Linked DNA regions of Homo sapiens: all the other regions are linked to region 3. The links are contacts of gene promoters, found by promoter capture Hi-C in human tissues and cell types (Jung and others, 2019). All regions are on one chromosome and are shown on one strand. The core of a region is centred on a gene start or on the middle of the fragment in contact, and the rest is flanking DNA. Distances in the headings are between cores, read along the strand shown.

Region 1 (4,973 bases), core at 413-2,912, 300 kb before region 3:
GGCATCCACCACCACTCCAGGCTAATTTTTTGTATTTTCTAGTAGAGACGGGGTTTCACCATATTGGCCAGGCTAGTCTCAAACTCCTGACCTCAGGTGATCCACCCGCCTTGGCCTCCCAGAGTGCTGGGATTACAGGTGTGAGCTACTACACCCGGCCGATGCCTGGATTTCAATCTCAGTTGCCTGGCTCAAGAGATGTGCCCTAATTGCAGTGCCAGCCTGGCTCCACACACCATGCTTAGGAGTTAGGCCTTGATAAGGAGCCAGGGAAAGTTGCTGCGGCAAATGTTTCGGAAAGATGGCCTGGCAGTAGGGTAGACGGGCACCCAGGGACAGGAGACCCAGCATGAGCAGGCATGGTAATGGTGCACAGGAGGATGACACGGCACAGCACTGGGGATGCACAGAAGGGTGGATGTGAGAGCGTTCCTGTCGTTTCCGCCACCTGGATCCCTCTCACCTGTGTCTGTTTTGCAACTCCATCTCGTTATGCTACTTCAGTACGTTCCATGGTGTGGTCTCTGGAAGCAGCACCTGGGAACTTGTTAGATACGTAAATTGGAGGGCCTAGCAGGCTGTGCTTAACGAGCCCTCTGTGGGGGAGCCTGATACAGGCTCATGCTTGAGAAGCACTCTCCTAATCTAAGCCACTAGCACCCAGCAGTGGGTGGCCACAAGGGTCTTGTCCTTGCTTTGGCTCTCTCTCAACCCTCAGGCTTGCCTGTGCTCAGGGCTTTGTGGCTCCATTAACCATGCGTCGCTGACGCTGAGTTTACCGTGGTCGGCCTCGCTTCTCAGTGAAGTCCAAGGGCCTCGCAGCCTCTGCATCTGGTGATTTCTCTGCCTTTCCTCAAAGCTTCTGCTTGGCTGCCTAGTCCACAGCCTCCCGATTCACCATTCACCTGGTCCCAGCAACAGAAGTCTCAGCTGGACACACAACATGCTTTAGAGTGAGTGGCTCTTGTCTTCTCAACTCCGGACGGCGACAGTGAAATTGTGGGAAGAACCTGAGGCTCTGAGCTGTGGCCTCAGAAGCTCTGTCCCTTCCCTTCTGGTTCCTGAGGAGTTGGTGTGGTCATGTGTGGCAGTCCTGACTCGCACCTCCTCCCAGCAGTTAGCACGGTACCTTGCCAAGGTGGCAGGAGCCAGGAAGAAGAGTAGGAGGTGGCATAATAATTACAATTGCAGGCTTTGGGATCAGGAAGTCCTACATGCGACAAGAATGCTTACTTCCTAAGATGAATATAGGATTAAGGATGTCATTGCGTGAAATAGTAAGCAAATAACCTAGGGACAGGAAGGACCAGTACATTATTGAGCTCAGCTTTGTTTCAATGATGTAAGTGGCAGTATTTATCAAATTAATATCTTTGTTTTTCAGGACTTGAAAATACTGGAAATCTGTCCGGATCCAAATTATTTTGCAAGCCAGATGAGTAACCAGAGGGCATGAAAGGTTGAGAACATTTGACTTCCCTGCAAACCTTGGTATAGATCACTTCCTTTTCTGTAGGAAAGGAAAGGCACCAAAGAGCACAATGAGTACAGTAAGTTTTATCATCTCTTGAATTTTTAATTTTGTAGGGCTAATTAACTACCTTATTCCTTGTAGCACATTAGTGAAAGTGAGTTCCATAATGTCACTTCTAAGTAACCCCACTTCTTGAAGGAGTATGTATAGGAGCTTTCTGGTGGTTACATCAGCTTACTTACCGACATTGAGCTACATTCGAGTCATAAAGGGCAGAGCCCTGAAGACAAAAGGCTGAGAAGGAATAGCTTAGGGTTTGGTAATCTCAGACCTTCACAACAGTTGTCAGTGTCATAGAAATACTAAAACTTTTTGCTTTTTAAAATTGTTTGTAGACTGGGCATGGTGGCTCATGTGTAATCTCAACACTTGGAGGCGTGAAGGTAAAAAGATTACTTGAGCCTAGGACCAGCCAGGGCAACATAGGCCCCATCTCTACAAACAAACAAAATGTAGCCAGGCGTGGTGGGGCGCACCTGTAGTCCCAGCTACTTGGGAGGCTGAGGCAGGAAGATTCCTTGAGCCCAAGAGTTCAAGGCTAGCTATGATCACACCACTGCATTTCGGCAGGATGACTGAGTGAGACTCTATAAAGTATTTGCAACCCAGTTTTCTGTTTTCCCGTCTGTTTTGTTTCCCTGTGACATTCTTGGTTCATTCAGTGTGAGCATGGTAGTAATAATCCATAGTGAAAAGTTTCTTATATTCACTGACCAAAGTTGATTCGTCATTATAATTACTGTTTAGCGCTTTTGTTTGTTTGTTTTTGAAACAGGGTCTCGCTCTGTCACCCAGCCTGGAGTGCAGTGGCCCGACCTCGGCTCACTGCAACCTCCACGTTCTGGGTTCAAGTGATTCTTGTGCCTCAGCCTCCCACATAGCTGCGATTACAGGCATGCACCTCCCCGCCCAGCTAATTTTGTATTTTTAATAGAGACCAGTTTTTGCCATGTTGGCCAGGCTATTTTGGTTTGTTTTTTGAGATGGAGTCTGTTGCCCAGGTTGGAGTACAGTGGTACCATCTCGGCTTGCTGCAACCTCCGCCTCCCAGGTTCAAGCGACTCTCCTGCCTCAGCCTCCGGAGTAGCTTGGATTACAGGCACCTACCACCACACCCAGCTGATTTTGTATTTTTAGTAGAGATGTGATTTCACCATGTTGGCCAGGCTGGTCTCAAACTCCTGACCTCAAGTGATCTTGGCCTCCCAAAGTGCTAGGATGACAGGCATGAGCCACCGCACCCAGCCGTTTTTATTTGTTTTTAAGAGACAGGGTCTCACTCAGTCTCCCAGTCTGGAGTGCAGTGGTGTGATCATAGCTCACTGCAGTCTCCAACTCCTGGAGTCAAGCAATCCTTTCACCTCAGCATCCTGAGTAGTTGGGATCATAGGCATGCACCACCGCACCTGGCCAATTTTTAAGAAAAAATTGGCCAGGTGCGGTGGCTTATGCCTGTAATCCCAGCACTTTGGGAGGCCGAGGTGGGCGGATCACGAGGTCAGGAGATCAAGACCATCCTGGCTAACACGGTGAAACCCCGTCTCTACTAAAAATACAAAAAATTAGCCAGGCATAGTTGGCGGGCGCCTGTAGTCCCAGCTACTCAGGAGGCTGAGGCAGGAGAATGGCATGAACCTGGGAGGCGGAGCTTGCAGTGAGCTGAGATCGTGCCACTGCAGTCCAGCCTGGGGGCAGAGCAAGACTCCATCTCAAAAAAAAAAAAAAGAAAAATCATTTTTGTAGGCATGGAGTCTTACTTTATTACCCAGGCTGATCTTGAACTCCTGGCTTCAAGCAGTCCTCCCACCTAGGCTCCCAGAGTGAGCGACAATACCCAGACTGTTTAGAGCTTTTATCACATCTGTGAGACAGCTCTGGTTTGGTGTAATTCAGGTGTCTCCTGGAACCCCTTGAGCTCTCGAGGAGATTACCTGAAGGTCCCCCTGTCCCAGTTTATTCTCTACTGACAGAGTTCTCACTGCAAGTTTGTTCAAATGATCTAAACTCAAAACATCTGTTGTCTGAGATCCTGAATTCCTTGTCAGACAGACCAGATGTGAAATAGCCTGCTGATTTCTTCCAGTGCTCCAGAAGTACTGTGAATGGTATGGGAAGATGGATGGTGGGGACAGGTGAGACTGAACAAACAGCTGTCAGAGGGAACAGTGATGGAAATGCTGGTCACACCCTCTGAGCCTTTTGGGTCCTCACCCTCTTCTGTTACTTCCTGGCCGCCATTGTGCTCCAGGGCCCACTTTTGATGGTGATACACAAAAAAGCCCACTTCTTTGACCTCCCACCTTGGTGCTTCACCTGCAGGTTACCATGTAGCTCACCTATGGGGAAATAGGTGCTTTAAGCCTTAACCCATCTCTGCTTAGGCCAGATCAGAACAGGCAAAACAATGTAGCCTTTTGTGCATGTGTGTGAAGAAATTGGTTAAAATTCCTGAAAGTTACGGTGTGGTTATAGCTTATGTGGTTGTGATAGGATGGTCAGTTTTCACCAAAAGCTATGGACCTCTGAGGGCCCTGCTAGTGAAAAGGAAGAGAATTATGACCAGAATTATGGGAGGGCCAGAGTGGGGAGCTCTGCAGATATTCCTGGATTGATTGAGCCTGTCTTGAGTGGTGCAGGGAAGCTACTTGGGAGGAGGAGGCTCAGAGACAGCAGAGTGGGAGGGTAAAGGATGTCCTCAGGAAGGAGGTGACATTTGAGTGGGTTCTGGAAAGCTGTGCAAGAATTGGCCAAGTAAAGAAAGGGAGGGACAGGCACTCCAGGCAGGGAAGAAGCTCTGGTTAAAGGCATGGAGGGGTCGATAGAGCAGGCAGAAAAGAGGATTCCTGAGGTTAGGGAGGGGTGGGGACATTCCTGTAATTATCCGTGAGGGGAGATTTTGGGTCCAGGACCCATGGCTGCTTTCTTGGCTCCCTCAGTGGGGCCCAGAAACCACACAGGTAGCTGTGGGACATGGAGGTCTGCTTAGCAGTGCCTAGTAAGAAAGACTTGGTCTGCTACAGGCTGGGCATGGTGGATCACAAGGTCAGGAGTTCGAGACCAGCCTGGCCAACATGGTGAAACCCCGTTTCCACTAAAAATACAAAAAAATTAGCTAAGCACAGTGGCGGGTGCCTGTAATCCCAGCTACTCGGGAGGCTGAGGCAGGAGAATCGCTTGAACCTGGGAGGCAGAAGTTGTGGTGAGCCGAGATCATTCCACTGCACTCCTGCCTGAGCAACAGAGTGAGACTCCGTCTTAAAAAAAAAAAAAAAAAAAAAAGACTTGGCTACAAGGGAAGGAGCCTATACGAGGACAAAGGACATTGTCAAAGAGAATGGGGTAAATATTTTCATTTATTTATTATTATTATTTTGAGACAGAGTCTTGCTCTGTCGCCCAGGCTGGAGTGCAGTGGATGCAATATTGGCTCACTGCAACC
Region 2 (5,013 bases), core at 1,493-3,992, 260 kb before region 3:
GCCTGGGCAACAGAGCAAGATTCCATCTCAAAAAACAAACAAACAAACAAAAAAACCACAGACAACCCAATTTGAAAATGGACAAAGGACTTAAATAGATATTTCTCCAAAGAAGGTATATAAATGGCCTACGTACTCCAGGGGTTCACATGGGAAGATTGCTTGAGCCCAGGGGGTCAAGGCTGCTGTGAGCCATGAACGGTGCCACTGCATTCCAACCTGAATGACAGAGCAAGACGCTCTCTCTAAAAAACAATAAATGAAAAATTTAAACAGTAGAGGTTACCACAGCCTGAGGGTAGGGGGAATGTAAAGTTACTGTTTAATGGCTACAGAATTTCTGTCTGAGATGATAAAAAAAAGTTCTGAAAATAGTGGTAAAAGTTGCCCAACATTCTGAATATAGATAATGCCACGGAGTTGTACACTTAATGATTAAAATAGTCAGTTTTGGCTGGGCACGATGGCTCATGCCTGAAATGCCAGCACTTTGGAGGGCTGAGGTGGGTGGATCACAAGGTCAGGAGATAGAGACCAGCCTGGCCAACATGGTGAAACCCTGTCTCTACTAAAACTACAAAAATTAGGGAGGCCGAAGCGGGCGGATCACCTGAGGTCAGGAGTTCAAAACCAGCCTGACTAACATGAGGAAACCCCGTATCTACCAAAAATACAAAATTAGCCGGGCGTGGTGGTGCATGCCTGTAATCCCAGCTACACGGGAGGCTGAGGTAGGAGAATTGCTTGAACTCAGGAGGTGAAGGTTGCGGTGAGCCAAGATCACGCCATTGCACTCCAGCCTGTGGCAACAAGAGCGAAACACCATCTCAACAAAAAAAAAAGAAAGAAAAAGAAAAAGCCAGGCACTGTGGCTCACACCTGTAATCCCAGCACTTTGGGAGGCCAAGGTGGGTGGATCACGAGCTCAGGAGATCGAGACCATCTTAGTTAATGCGGTGAAATCCCATCTCTACTAAAAATACAAAAACTTAGCCAGGCATGGTGGCACGAGCCTGTAGTCCCAGCTACTTGGCAGACTGTGGTGGCGTGCACCTGTAATCCCAGCTGCTAGGGAGGCTGAGGCAGGAGAATCGCTTGAATCCGGGAGGCGGAGGTTGCAGTGAGTAGAGATTGCGCTGCTGCACTGCAGTGTGGGCAACAGAGGAAGCCTCCAGCTCAAAAAAAAAAAAAAGTTTTGGCTCGATGTGGTGGCTCACACCTGTAATCCCAGCACTTTGGGAGGCCGAAGCGGGCGGATCACCTGAGGTCAGGAATTTGAGACCAGCCTGGCCAACATGGTGAAACCCGGTCTCTGCTAAAAATACAAAAATTAGCCGGGCGTGGTGGCAGGTGCCTGTAATCCCAGCTACTTGGGAGGCTGAGGCAGGAGAATTGCTTGAACCCAGGAGGTGGAGGTTGCAGTGAGCTGAGATCGCACCATTGCACTCCAGCCTGGGGGACAAGAGTGAGACTTCGTCTCAAAAAGAAAAAAAGTAAGTTTTGTATTATACATATTTTATAGCAATTTCTTTTTTTTTCTTTTTTTTTTTTAGACGGTTTCTCACTCTGTTGCCAGGCTGGAGTGCAGTGGCTTGATCTTGGCTCACTGCAACCTCCACCTCCCAGGTTCAAGTGATTCTCCTGCCTCAGCCTTCTGAGTAGCTGGGACTACAGGTGCGCGCCACCATATCCAGCTAATTTTTTGTATTTTTAGTAGAGACGGGGTTTCACCATGTTGGCCAGGATGGTCTCTATCTCTTGACCTTGTGATCTGCCAGCCTCAGCCTCCCAAAGTGCTGGAATTACAGGTGTCAGCCACTGTACCTGGCCAACAATTTCTTAAAATGCAAAACTAAACAAAAGGAGAGTTTAGCATAAAATAATATGAAATACATAGGAATAAGTCTGACAAAAGATGTGTCAGGCAAGTACACTAAACCTCAAAACATTGCTAAGACTAAATAAATGTATATAAATATAGCTCACGAACTGGAAGATGCAATAATGTTTAGATATCACTATCTACAAATTCATCTGTACATTACCACAATCTTTGTTAAAATTGACCAGATTTTTTTAAAGAAATTGACAAGCTGATTCTCAAATTCACATGAAATTCACAGGAATTTCATATGAATATGAATATGCAAAACAACATTGGAAAGAATAGTCTGGATGAAGTGGCTCACGCCTGCAATCCCAGCACTTTGGGAGGCCATAGCAGAGGATCACTTGAGCCCAGGAGTTCGTGACCAGCTTGGGCAACATAGTGAGACCCCATCTCTACAAAAATAAAAATAAAAAAATAGCTGGGCATAGTGATAGGTGCCTGTGGTCCCAGCTACTCAGAAGGCTGAGATGGGAGGGTCACTTGAGCCTGGGAGGTCCAGGCTGCAGTAAGCTGTGATTGAGCCACTGCACTCCAGCCTGGGTGGTAGAGTGAGATCCCATTTCAAAATAAACAATAAAATAATAAAGTTGGACCGGGTGCAGTGGCTCACGCCTGTAATACCAGCACTTTGGGAGGCCGAGGCCGGCGGATCACAAGGTCAGGAGATCGAGACCATCCTGGCTAACAGAGTGAAACCCCGTCTCTACTAAAAATACAAAAAAATTAGCCAGGTGCGGTGGCAGGCACCTGTAGTCCCAGCTACTCGGGAGGCTGAGGCAGGAGAACGGCATGAACCTGGGAGGCAGAGCTGGCAGTGAGCCGAGATAGCGCCACTGCACTCTAGCCTGGACGACAGAGCGAGACTCCATCTCAAGAAAAAAAAAAAAAAAAAGGCTCATGCCTGTAATTCCAGCACTTTGGGAGGCCGAGGTGGGTGGATCACGAGGTCAGGAGTTGAAGACCAGCCTGGCCAAGACAGTGAAACCCCATCTCTACTAAAAATACAAAAAAATTAGCCTGGTGTGGTGGCAGGTGCCTGTAATCCCAGCTACTCAGAAGGCTGAGGCAAGAGAATCCCTTGAACCCAGGTGGCAGAGGTTGCAGTGAGCTGAGATTGTGCCATTGCACTCCAGCTGGGTGACAGAGTGAGACTCTTTCTCAGAAAAAAAAAAAAAAGGTAAGCATATCTCTTCCATATGACCACTCTTAGGTGTTTACTTAAGAGAAATGAAAACGTGTTTATATGATGACTTGTACATGAATGTTCTGGTGTTTTTGTTTGTTTGTTTTTCGGTTTTTTTAATTTATGAATGTTGATAGTAACTGTAATAACCAAAAACTGGAAACAACCAAAATATTCATCAACAGATAAATGTATAAACAAACTATGAGACATCCATGCAGTGGAATACCACTGAGCAATGAAAAGGAATTTTTTTTTTTTGAGATGGAGTCTCACTCTGTCGCCCAGGCTGGAGTGCCGTGGTGCGCTCTCGGCTCTCTGCAACCTCCGCGTCCTGGGTTCAAGCGATTCTCCTGCCTCAGCCTCCCAAGTAGCTGAGACTACAGGCGCCTGCCACCACACCTGGCTAAATTTTTGTATTTTTAGTAGAGACGGGGTTTCACCATGTTGGCCAGGATGGTCTTGATCTCCTGACCTCATGATCCGCCCACCTCAGCCTCCCAAAGTGTTGGGATTACAGGCGTGAGCCACTGTGCCTGGCCAAAGAATGCATTATTTTAAAAACGTTTTTGTTATATAAATTCTTTTTATTTTGCCCTTATTATGTTTCATTGACATATAATTGTACATATTTATGAAGTACAGTGTGATAATTTGATACATGTATAGAATGTGTAATGATCAGAGTAGCATATCCATCACCACAAACATTTATTATTTCCTTGTGTTGCGAACATTCATAATCTACTCTTCTGCCTATTTGAAAATATACAGTAAATTTTTGTTAATTACAGTCACCCTATAGTGCCAGCCATAGAACACTAAACTCATTTCTTTTACAAAGCTGTACTGTTTTTTTTTTTTTTTTTTTTGAGACAGAGTCTTGCTCTCTTGGGCAGGCTATAGTGGCACAATCTCAGCTCACTGCAACCTTCATATCCCAGGCTCAAGTGGTTCTCCTGCCTCAGCCTCCCAAGTAGCTGGGAGTACAGGCGTGTGCCACCATGTCCAGGTAATTTTCGTATTTTTAGTAGAGACGGGGTTTCACCATGTTGGCCAGGCTGGTCTCAAACTCCTGACCTCAGGTGATCCGCCCGCCTCGGTCTCCCTAAGTGCTGGATTACAGGAGTGAGCCAAGGCGCCCAGCCTCAAGCTGTACTTTTGTATCCATTAACCAACCTTTGGCTATCTCCCTCTCCCCACTACTCTTCCCTACCTCTAGAAACCACTATTCTAAGCTGGGCACAGTGGCTCACGCCTGTAATCCCAGCACTTTGGGAAGCCTAGGCAGGCGGATCACAAGGTCAGTAGTTCGAGATCAGCCTGGCCAACATGGTGAAACCCTGTCTGTACTAAAAACTTAGCCGGACATGGTGGTGCACCTGTAATCCCGGCTATTTGGGAGGCAGAGGTGGGAGAATTGCTTGGACCTGGGAGGCAGAGGCTGCAGTGAGCCGAGATCATGCCCTGCACTCTATCCTGGGCAACAGAGTGAGACCCTGACTCAAAAAAAACAAAAACAAAAACAAAAACAAAAATTACCCAGGTGTAGGCCAGGCGCGGTGGCCCACGCCTGTAATCCCAGCACTTTGGGAGGTCGAGGCAGGCGGGTCACGAGGTCAGGAGATCGAGACCATCCTGGCTAACATGGTGAAACCCCGTCTCTACTAAAAATACAAAAAATGAGCCGGGCATGGTGGCGGGCGCCTGTAGTCCCAGATACTCAGGAGGCTGAGGCAGGAGAATGGCGTGAACCTGGTAGGCGGAGCTTGCAGTGAGCCGAGATCGCGCCACTGCACTCCAGCCTGAGCGACAGAGCGAGACTCCATCTCAAAAAAAAAAAAAAAAAAAATTACCCAGGTGTGGTGGCGCGTGCCTGTAGTCCCAGCTAGTTGAGAGGCTGAGGCGAAGAATCACTTGAACCCAGGAGGCGGGGAGG
Region 3 (5,307 bases), core at 2,058-4,557:
TGATGGACACTGCCAGGCAAGCGCAGGAGAGGGAGGATGAGGCAGGCAGGGGCTGAGAAAGGCAGGATTCCAGGTGTGCTTTGCCAACAGAACCTTCAGGGCGGACGGGATGTGGGGCGAGCAGAGAGGCATCAGTGCGGACGACTCCAGGGTTGCTGGCCCAGGGAAGGAAAAAGAGACTTGGCAGGCGCATGAAGCCCCCTGCTGGGACGCCTGTGACACGTAGACCAGCGGCAGATCTTGCCCTCGCCATCCTAACCGTCAGCCTCACCCTCAGCAGGTCCTGCCCTACCCCCCAGACAGCAGCTGCCTCTGCCTGTTCTGGGTCCTGCCAAATCAGTGGCATGGCCGATGGCACACGGGGGATGGGTGTGGCGGGGGACCGGCCCCCTTCTCTTTGGCCTTATTCTGTGGGTGTGATTGGGGCATCACCATGGGCTTCTACCCCGGATGTGCCCTGTGGAGGTCTGCTCCCCAGCTCCCTGCCGGCCAGGGGTCCTCGCCTTACCTCTGCTCACCTGCCCTGCATACCCTCCCAGCAGGCGAGGTCATCCTCCTCACCCATCCCTGCTCTGTCAGCCTCAGCGGAACCCCTGGGTGCCCAGAGGCTCTGGCCACAGCCTCCAGCAGCTTCTTGCTCGGAGGGGCTGCTGGGAGCTGCCCTGAGGCCCCAACTAGGAGTTCCTTCCTCCCACGCCCTGGGGTTGGACTGGTAAGGGGGGAGAAGGGGAGGAATATGAGGTGTGGGATTCTCCCCACGGTGGAGGCTGCACCCTGTTCCCCCTGTTTGGCTGAGGTGCCCTGCACAGAGGTGCTTTGCATTTCTGGGTGATCATTCTCTAGGCGCCTGGTCCGTCCACACTGTCTGCAGTGACCCTGCTCCGTCAACTCTGAGCTTGGCATCTGAGGCCAGCCCTGTACACCCTGCCCTGTAGTCAGGCCCTGGCGGGGCCGCACCGACGTTTGGCTTTGCTCCACTCCCCTCCCGGTCTCTGCCCCTTTCCCCAGCTGGTCCCCTGGGAACAGGACACTTGCTGTGACCCAATGGCATCTGCTCATTTGTCCATTTGCTCCTCTCGTGAGCCACAAGGGTAGGGACTTCCTTGTATCATCTTGGGTCCCCGGGGTCTGGTGTGGGGCCAGGCATTTATTTAGCTGAACTGGACATCAGGGACATCAAGATGTACAGCCCCAAGGTCATGAGTGTTTTGTCAGGAGCCTTAGACCAGTCTGGCCCAGCCTGGAGCTCCCTCCGCATGTGGCCTCTTACAGGAGTGACGCAGCCCCATGCGGTGCTAACAGTGGCAGCACTGAACGTCGGATGGGGCTGAGCCCAGCCACTTCCACAATGGCTGTAGTTCCTATCTCTTCCTCCCTGCTAGGAAAATGTGAAATAGCCCAGAGTGGGGGGTGGGCAGAAGAGTTGCAGGCTACCCAATGCTGGGATGAGCAGAGTTGAGACCTGGGGAGCCAGGCCCAGGACACTTACAGGTGGGGATGTGAGCAGGCACCCCAGAGAGTGAGCACCCCAGCCAGCCAGCACCCATCTACTCCCTCACTGGGGTCTAAGTTCAGCCCCGAGAGCTAGGCTGTAGGTGGGTAGAGTCACAGCCCCAGCGCCGGTGTGAGGGGTGGCCCTGGGCCAGGTAGAGTGAGTATCTGCCTGCTGTCATGCCCCATCCACTTCTGCCGCCTCCCCAGTAGAGGACCCCCTCCATTTCACAGATGGGGAAAAGGGGCCCTGTTGTCTGAAGACTCTCCCATATCCTCCCCTGCCTCTGCCATCCCCTGCTTTGTCCCTTCCCTTCCAGAGGCCCTGCCTTGGTCCTGGTCACTTCCTGGTAGGCACTGGCTCTTCCTCTATGCCTGGGCTCAGGGCCTGGCCACCTAGTTTTCTGACTCCTCCCACTTACTCCCCTCCCCAGTTAACCTCTCTGATCCCAAGTGTGTCTCTCCAGCAGGGAGGAGGGCTATTGCAGCCAGGGATCCCCTTTCTGAGGCTTGGGACCCATTATTGGGCAGCTCTGGGACAGGTGGACGGTGACTTGGCCCACACTCGGTCCAGCTGCAACCCTGAGAACCCGCTTGGTTTGGCTGTGTCTCCTGGAGGCCCTCAGGTATTTCAACCTGTAGGACCCAAACCCAGTCCTTCACCTGCTGCAGGGCCAGCCCTGGACACCCCTGCCCCTGCCTGATTTGGAGCAGCCAATTCAGCCCCTGTCATTGGACTCTGGCCTCTTGTGCTCAGTACAGAGGGTCAGACCTTGGCCGCCTGCCTGGACAGGGCCAGGTCACCACCACCCACCCCCAGCTCCCTTGGGTTCCCAGCAAGATCCTGTCCTTCCTCTACTCACAGCTTCCTGGGCTCTGGGACCTGGGGTCCAGTCCCCACTCCTCATGGGGAGGAGTCCCCCCACGCCCCAAGCAGTTGACTCCCGCACTGGTGGGGGGTCCGCTCGCCCTCAAGCTCTGCAGGCCCAGCTTGGTCTCCCCAGCCTCTTCACTTTCTCCACGGCTCCCTCCACCTACCTGGCCCTGAGAGCTCCCCAGGGAAGCCATTTCCTCCCAGGAAGCCCCTCCTCTTCTCGCCCCTGCCCTTACACCAAGGCATCTGGGCCTACTCTTAGGGAGAGGGTGATGGTGGAGGAAAGGGAGCCTCAGAGGAGGCCAAGTGTAAAGCACCCGGTCTCCTGTGCCTCCCAGCCCCAAGACGACCTCTGGGCCACCGGAGTCCAGACCTGGTCCAAGAGGCGAGGTCCCCCTGGGAAGTGCCTGAAAAGTACCCTGGAGGACATTTGGAAACAAAGACAAGGTTTCCTGGTGCCCAGCAAGCCCTCCCCCACCTCCCCTGCTCCTGTCTTGGCCAGGGCCTAAGTCGCACTCACGGGGCAGGGGTGGGGCCGCCCAGGATCAGGACCACGGGGCTGGGGGGGTGGACAGCGCCCTTTCCACCTGGGTCGCTGGGCACTGGGGTGTCACTGGGAGGGACACGCAGGAGGGACAGACACGCTACCTCACTCACGGGCGAGAACTAAGCACCTACTGTGGACCCGGCGTCTAGGCCCGCGACAACGCCAGTCTTCGCCCCCCAGGGGCCTCGTCCCGGGGCCGCGGAGGCCACGTGCAGTTCCCCGCCCACCCTGAGGTACCGGCCCCGCCCCACGCCCAGCTCGGACCTCCAGGATTGCGGGACCCGCCGGGGAGGGGCGGGGCCGGGGCGGGGCCAGGAGGAGGGCGGACTGGGCGGGCGCGGGCGGGACGGAGCTGCGGCGGCGGCGGGTCCCGCGGGCGGGAGCGCCTGGCGGCCGAGTCAAGCCGCCGCCTCGACCCAGGGCCCGCGGGCCAGGAGAGCGCTCGGCGGGTAAGCCTCGGCGGCGGGTCTCGGCGGGTCTCGGGGGTCTCGCGGGGGGGCGGTCTCCGCGTCTGGAAGGGGCTCGGCGGGCCTTGGCGGTCTGGGGGCTCTCGGCGGGTCTCGGGGGTCTCGGGGGAGTCTCGGGGTCCCGACAGGTCTCGGCGGGTCTCGGGGGTCTCGGGGGAGTCTCCGGGGAGTCTCAGGGGTCCCGGCAGGTCTTGGCAGGTCTCGGGGGAGTCTCAGGGTCCCGGCAGGTATGGGCGGGTGTCGGGGGTCTCGGGTGCGCAGCAGCCTCCCCCGGGCCCCGGGGCCTCCGTGTCCTTGCCAAAGGACGCACGGGGCCTGGGCACGGCGGGCAGTGCCCGAGGGAGCGCGGCTTCGGGGCGGGGGCCGGGTGTCCCTTGCCGGGGGCTCAGGGGTGGGAGGCGGTGCGACGCGTCTGTTTCGCACCCCTCGCGCCCCTCTGGCCCCGCGGCGGGGCCCCTTTACGCGACCCTCCCCACAAGACTCAAAGGCTGCGGCGGGCACTCGCTCTCCGCCCTTCCCGGAATCCAAACTTCCCTCTGCAGCGGCCGCGCTTCACGGAGGGCAAGAAAAGCCGCCCACTGGCGCTGATTCACACTGAAGTGTGAGTGACTGATAGCCGGGCGTCTGAGACTCTCATGGGCAACAGGGAATCTCAGGGGTGGCAGAGGGACTGGAGGAGTTAGGGGGCGGGGACAGCCCCTTCCACCTGTACGCTGGCCTCCCTGCAGCCCAGCACTTTCCCGCTGCTCTGGGCCTCGGCTCCCTGGGGGTATTGAGGGCCTGAGCCCTGCTGTGGGGAGCCTTCTGCTGGTGCTCCTTTCCGTGAGCACCTCCTATCCCCTCTCTGTGCCTCAGTTTGCTCATCTGTTGACACTGGGGACAGCTGTGCCTCCTGGTCTAGTGGCCACACTTAAGTCCTTCGAATTGGCTGTGGCCAGGGGCGGGTACTCCGTGTGGGCTGCTGGGGTGGACAGCCTGCCTGGATGACATGTGTGTGGCCTTGCAGGTGACATGGGCCGGTGATGCAATGTGTAGAATTGTTTCCACAACCGCCTGAAGGCAGGGCCCACAGCCTCCTCCTTGCCGAAGCAAGCCTCTGGGTTCAGGTCAGCCCTGCACCAACTCCATGAGCCTGGACAAGCTCCTGCCCTCACTGGCTCAGGCCCTGTGGGACCAGAGGAGGGGCTGGGCTCCACCCCCTCCTGGTTCTTCCCACTCTGTCCACTGTCTCCTCTACGTAGACACCGTCGAAGGGCCCTCTTGGAGCCCAACCTCAGGGCCCCACTCCAGGCACTCCACTCCTGGCAGGACAGGAGGCCTGGGACGAGGGCTGCAAGGGAGTGAGGATTCTGTCTATCCCCTCTCCCTGCCACCCGCCAGGCTCCCTTTGCCTGGCTCTGTGCCCTGCGTTAGGCACACCCTGGAGGGGGCAGGCAGAAGGAAGACAGATAGGCAGCCGTGTCTAGGAACTGCCAGCCAGGGCCATCTGGTGAGAGGGGTGCTGACAGGGGACCTGGCCTTTCAGGGAGTCCCCAGGCCTCCAGGATCATGGGGGAGCCCACCAAGGAGGCTGGCCTGAAGAGGCAGACAGAGGGAGGACAGGCTCTGGGCCTGCCTTGGCCCTTTCTGCCCACATGGACAGAGGAAGCAGGGTGCTGAGTCAGCTGGAGCTCCCCACCCCCCAGGGATGCACGCACACAAGCAGGCCCACAGACGGGAAGTCCAGGGGCCCAGAGAGACGAGATGGCCAGCCTTGGTTCCTGAGGGGCAGGGAGGAAGGGCGCAAACTCAGCCAGGATCTTGGGTGTGAACTCAGATGCCACCAGTTTCCAGCTGTGTGATCATGGCCAGGAGGCTTCCCCCTGCCACCCCTCCGTTTTCTCATCCATGACCTGAGGGCTGTGAAGCACTTTGTACCTGGTGGGTGG
Region 4 (4,746 bases), core at 2,150-4,649, 410 kb before region 3:
GCCAAAACGACTACTTGTTTTTGTTTCAGACCCGATACCCAGCCTTTCATTCTCCCAGGGCCTGCCACAGATCTTGATTATTCCCAAAGAAAGAAGAGGCAAACTGAAGCCAAATCAGAATCAAGGTCCACCTGCCCCTTCCCAAACCACCTTAGACTCCCACAAGGGTGGAAGCTGGTGCCAGAGGCTCTGAGCAGAGGGCTCTTCCTCTATGGGGTACATCTGCACCTGGATGTTTCTGGGCTCCAGGCATCCTGGTGAGCCACTGGGAAGGTGTCCAGAACTCCAGGGGCCTGGCTGTCTCATGACAGCAGGGGGTAGACGGGGGCTGGTCACATGGACAGACAGCATCTGAGAGTGGCCAAGCCCCCCAGTCTGCACCATGCTGGCAGCAGAACCCGTGCCAGAGAGCAAGGAGGTGTGGGCATTGGGGGGACCGCTCCAGGGAGAGACAGAGCCCTCAACAATCAAAGAAAGCAATGGGAGGGACTTACAGTTTCCTCATCTACCAAGAAAAGGAAATCTCAGAATCCCATCTTCTGTCAGACCCGGGAGCAGGTGGGCAGTGCAAGGATTCTCGGCCCTCCCAGGCCAGGAGCTGTCCCCCTATGCCAGGACCTCAAATTTAAAGCTCTCTCCTCTTAACAGAATCAGGAAAAACCAAGCTGACAGCTAAAATGTTCGGCTGAAGTTCACAAGAATGTAGAGGCTCAGATTGTCAGCACATTATAATCATTGACATTTAGCAACAAAATTGGCCCATCACTCCTGGACGACAAATCGCCCCCATCTGACTGCCCCTCCTTAATAAATAGGGCAGGACTCCTCCTGTGCAGAGATGGCACGCGCACCTCTGCCAACTCGAATTCACATTGCCACCCCACCTCCCTCCTGTAATTTTATCCTCATGGGATACATTTCTATGCTTCAAAGTCCTTACTGATCATCTATCAAATTTTTCTACAACATATATATCAATATTACATATTTATAAATCTATAAATGGGATTTAAATTTTTAAATTTTCACACTTTTTTTTTTGAGACAGAGTCTTTCTCTGTCACCCAGGCTGGAGTGCAGTCGCACAATCTCAGCTCACTGCGGCTTCCATCTCCCGGGTTCAAGCAATTCTTGTGCCTCAGCCTCCCAAGTATCTGGGATTACAGCCATGAGCCACAGTACCCAGCTAATTTTTGCATTTTTAGTAGAGATGGGGTTTTGCCATGTTGCCCAGGCTGGTCAAATTTTTAAATTTTCTGTGAGGCACTGAGTGTTAGCATTTTCTCTGCACTGAGTCGACAATGTAGACACTGCAATTACTTTTGCAACAACCTAATAGTATTAGTATACAATCGATCAAACAACATAAACATGTGACACATCTTGGTACACCATCATTTCACAGAAAGGTGTCTCATAGAAATGTAGTTCTTGATGGGGTGGATGCATCCGGGGTTTTCTGACTAGCTGTTGTCTCTTTGGGTAACTCACTAGTTGCCAAAGTAGGCTGGCCTCAGCTGCAATGCTGTTCCTGCGTTTTGACTTAGGTAAGTGCCAAGAAACCTGCTCTCATGGCTGAGTTAGCAGGAGCGGGGAGAGCAATAGAGGAACTTCCTGCCACTCCAAGAACAACTGCCGAGTTATCGGCTAAGAATCATTGCTTCATGACCAAAAGTCATTCTTAACGCCCTGTCAGCTGCAACTCAACCAAGTCCTTCTTCAATTTTATTGAAGTCAAAGCAGCAGAAACCACCTGGTTTGAAGGATTTGTCATTGGCATTGTCCGCTCCTTGGTCCTGTGGGCCACCTTTTGATATGTTTTGGCTGTGTCCCCACCCAAATCTCATCTTGAATTATACTCTCGTAATTCCCACGTGTTGTGGGAGGGACCCAGTGGGAGATAATTTGAATCATGGGGGTGATTTCCCCCATACTGTTCTCGTGTGAATAAGTCTCACAAGGACTGATGGTTTTATCAGGGGTTTTCGCTTTTGCATCTTCCTCATTTTTCTCTTGCCACTGCCATGTAAGAAGTGCCTTTTGCCTCCTGCTGTGATTCGGAGGCCTCCCCAGCCATGTGGAACTGTAAGTCCAATTAAACCTCTTTTTCATCCCAGTCTCAGGTATGTCTTTATCAGCAGGGTGAAAATGGACTAATACAGTAAATTGGTACCAGTACAGTGGGGTATTGCTGAAAAGATATCCGAAAATGTGGAAGCAACTTTGGAAGAGAATAACAGGCAGAAGTTGGAACAGTTTGGAGGGCTCAGAAGAAGACAGGAAAATGTGGGAAAATTTGGAACTTCCTAGAGACTTGTTGAATGGCTTTGACCAGATGCCTGATAGCAACATGGACAATAAGGTCCAGGCTGAGGTGGTCTCAGGTGGAGATGAGGAACTTGTTGGGAACTGAAGCAAAAGTGACCCTTGTTATGTTTTAGCGAAGAGACTGGCAGCATTTTGCCCCTGCCCTAGAGATTTGTGGAACTCTGAACTTGAGAGGGATGATTTAGGGTATCTGCGGGAAGAAATTTCTAAGAAGCAAAGCATTCAAGAAGTGACTTGGGTGCTGTTAAAGGCATTCAGTTTTATAAGGGAAGCCAAGCATAAAAATTCGGAAAATTTGCAGCCTGACAGTTTTTGTTGTTGTTGTTGTTTTTGAGACAGAGTCTCGCTGTGACACCCAGGCTGGAGTGCAATGGTGTGACCTTGGCTGACTGCAACCTCTGCTTCCCAGGTTCAAGCAATTCTCCTGACTCAGCCTCCTGAGTAGCTGGGACTACAGGCACGCACCACCATGCCCGGCTAATTTTTGTATTTTTAGTAGAGATGGGGTTCCACCGTATTGGCCAGGCTGGTCTCAAGCTCCTGACCTCAAATGATCTTCCCACCTCAGCCTCCCAAAGTGCTGGGATTATAGGCGTGAGCCACTGCATCCAGCTGTGACAATGTGATAGAAGAGAAAAACCCATTTTCTGAGGAGAAATTCAAGCCAGCTGCAGAAATTTGCTTAAGTAATGAGGAGCTGAACGTTAATCCCCAAGACAACTGGGAAAATGTCTCCAAAGCATGTCAGAGGTCTTCAGGGCAGCCCCTCCTACCACAAGCCCAGAGGCCTAGGGGAAAATGGTTTCATGGGCCAGGCCCAGGGTCCCTGTGCTGTGTGCAGCCTAGGGACTTGGTGCCCTGTGTCCCAGCTGCTCCAGCCATGGCTGAAAGGGGTCAATGCAGAACTCAGGCCATGGCTTCAGAGGGTGCAAGCCCCAAGCCTTGGCAGCTTCCACATGGTGTTGAGCCTGCGAGTGCACAGAAGTCAACAATGAGGGTTTGGGAACCTCCACTAGATTTCAGAGGATGCATGGAAACACCTGGATCCCCAGGCAGAAGTTTGCTGCAGGGGTGGGGCACTCATGGAGAACCTCTGCTAGGGCAGTGTGGAAGGGAAATGTGGGGTTGGAGCCCCCACACAGAGTCCCTACTGGGCACCACCTAGTGGAGCTGTGAGAAGAGGGCCACCGTCCTTCAGACCCCAGAATGGTAGATCCACCAACAGCTTGCACCATTTGCCTGGAAAAGCTGTAGACACTCAATGCCAGCCTGTGAAAGCAGCTGGGAGGGAGGCTGTACCCTGCAAAGTCACAGGGGTGGAGCTGCCCAAGACGATGGGAACCCACCTCTTGCACCAGGGTGACCTGGATGTGAGACCTGGAGTCAAAGGAGATCATTTTGGAGCTTTAAGATTTGACTGTCCCGCTGGATTTCGGACTTGCATGGGCCCTGTAACCCCTTTGTTTTGACTAATTTCTCCCATTTGGAATGGCTATATGTACCCAATACCTGTACCCCCATTGTATCTAGGAAGTAACTAGCTTGCTTTTGATTTTACAGACTCATAGGCAGAAGGGTACTTGCCTTGTCTTAGATGAGACTTTTGACTGTGGACTTTTGGGTTAATGCTGAAATGAGTTAAGATTTTGGGGGACTGTATTAGTCCATTTTTAGGCTGCTGATAAAGACACGCTGGAGACTGGGAAGAAAAAGAGGTTTAATTGGACTTACAGTTCCATATGGCTGGGGAGGCCTCAGAATCACGGCAGGAGGCAAAAGGCACTTCTTACACGGCAGCAGCAGGAGAAAATGAGGAAGAAGCAAAAGCAGAAACCCCTGATAAACCCATGAGATCTCCTGAGACTTATTCACTATCACGAGAAAAGCATGGGAAAGGCCAGCCCCCATGATTCAGTTACCTCCCCCTGGGTCCCTCTCACAACATGTGGGAATTCTGGGAGATATAATTCAAGTTGCGACTTTGGCGGGGAAACAGCCAAGCCATAACAGGGACTGTTGGGAAAGCATGATTGGTTTTGAAATGTGAGGACATGAGATTTGAAGGGGCCAGGGACGGAATTATAAGGTTTGGCTGTGTCTCCACCCAAATCTCATCTTGAATTGTACTCCCATAATTCTCACATGTTGTGGGAGGGACCTGGTGGGAGGTAATTGAATCATAGGGGTGGTTCCCCCATACTGTTCTCATGGTGGTGACTAAGTCTCACGAGATCTGATGGTTTTATCAGGGGTTTTCACTTTTGCATCTTCCTCATTTTTCTCTTGCCACCTCCACGCAGGAAGTGCCTTTTGCCTTCCGCCATGATTCTGAGGTGCCCCCTGCCCCACAGCCACGTGGAACTACAAGTCTAATTAAACCTCTTTTTCTTCCTAGTCTCAGGTATGTCTTTATCAGCA

What was found. The method cuts DNA at HindIII sites, captures the fragments that hold promoters and counts their contacts. A contact is called where the count stands out against the background at its distance.
Region 1: a fragment that was not itself captured here is called in contact with the fragment with the promoter of SH3BP2 in region 3 in 1 of the 25 tissues and cell types used here (spleen).
Region 2: a contact is called between a fragment that was not itself captured here and the fragment with the promoter of SH3BP2 in region 3, in 1 of the 25 tissues and cell types used here (mesendoderm cells).
Region 4: a contact is called between a fragment that was not itself captured here and the fragment with the promoter of SH3BP2 in region 3, in 1 of the 25 tissues and cell types used here (H1 embryonic stem cells).

The regions. Positions count from the first base shown.
Region 1 is chr4:2,488,953-2,493,925 of GRCh38, forward strand. RNF4 (ring finger protein 4) reads left to right here. Exons shown (of 8, transcript NM_002938.5): 2 at 1,385-1,550. The coding sequence starts at 1,542. Among named protein-coding and RNA genes, the nearest start is that of RNF4, 22 kb to the left of the region's middle. RefSeq lists an enhancer at 582-1,362. The HindIII fragment of the contact is 4,826 bases long and covers 1-4,075 here.
Region 2 is chr4:2,528,028-2,533,040 of GRCh38, forward strand. No RefSeq gene overlaps it. Among named protein-coding and RNA genes, the nearest start is that of FAM193A, 6.1 kb to the right of the region's middle. The HindIII fragment of the contact is 7,357 bases long and covers 1-5,013 here.
Region 3 is chr4:2,789,778-2,795,084 of GRCh38, forward strand. SH3BP2 (SH3 domain binding protein 2) reads left to right here and starts at 3,308. Exons shown (of 13, transcript NM_001122681.2): 1 at 3,308-3,361. RefSeq lists a silencer at 3,026-3,375. The HindIII fragment of the contact is 44,064 bases long and covers 1-5,307 here.
Region 4 is chr4:2,378,765-2,383,510 of GRCh38, forward strand. All of the region lies in intron 1 of ZFYVE28 (zinc finger FYVE-type containing 28), which reads right to left. Among named protein-coding and RNA genes, the nearest start is that of ZFYVE28, 38 kb to the right of the region's middle. The HindIII fragment of the contact is 4,819 bases long and covers 991-4,746 here.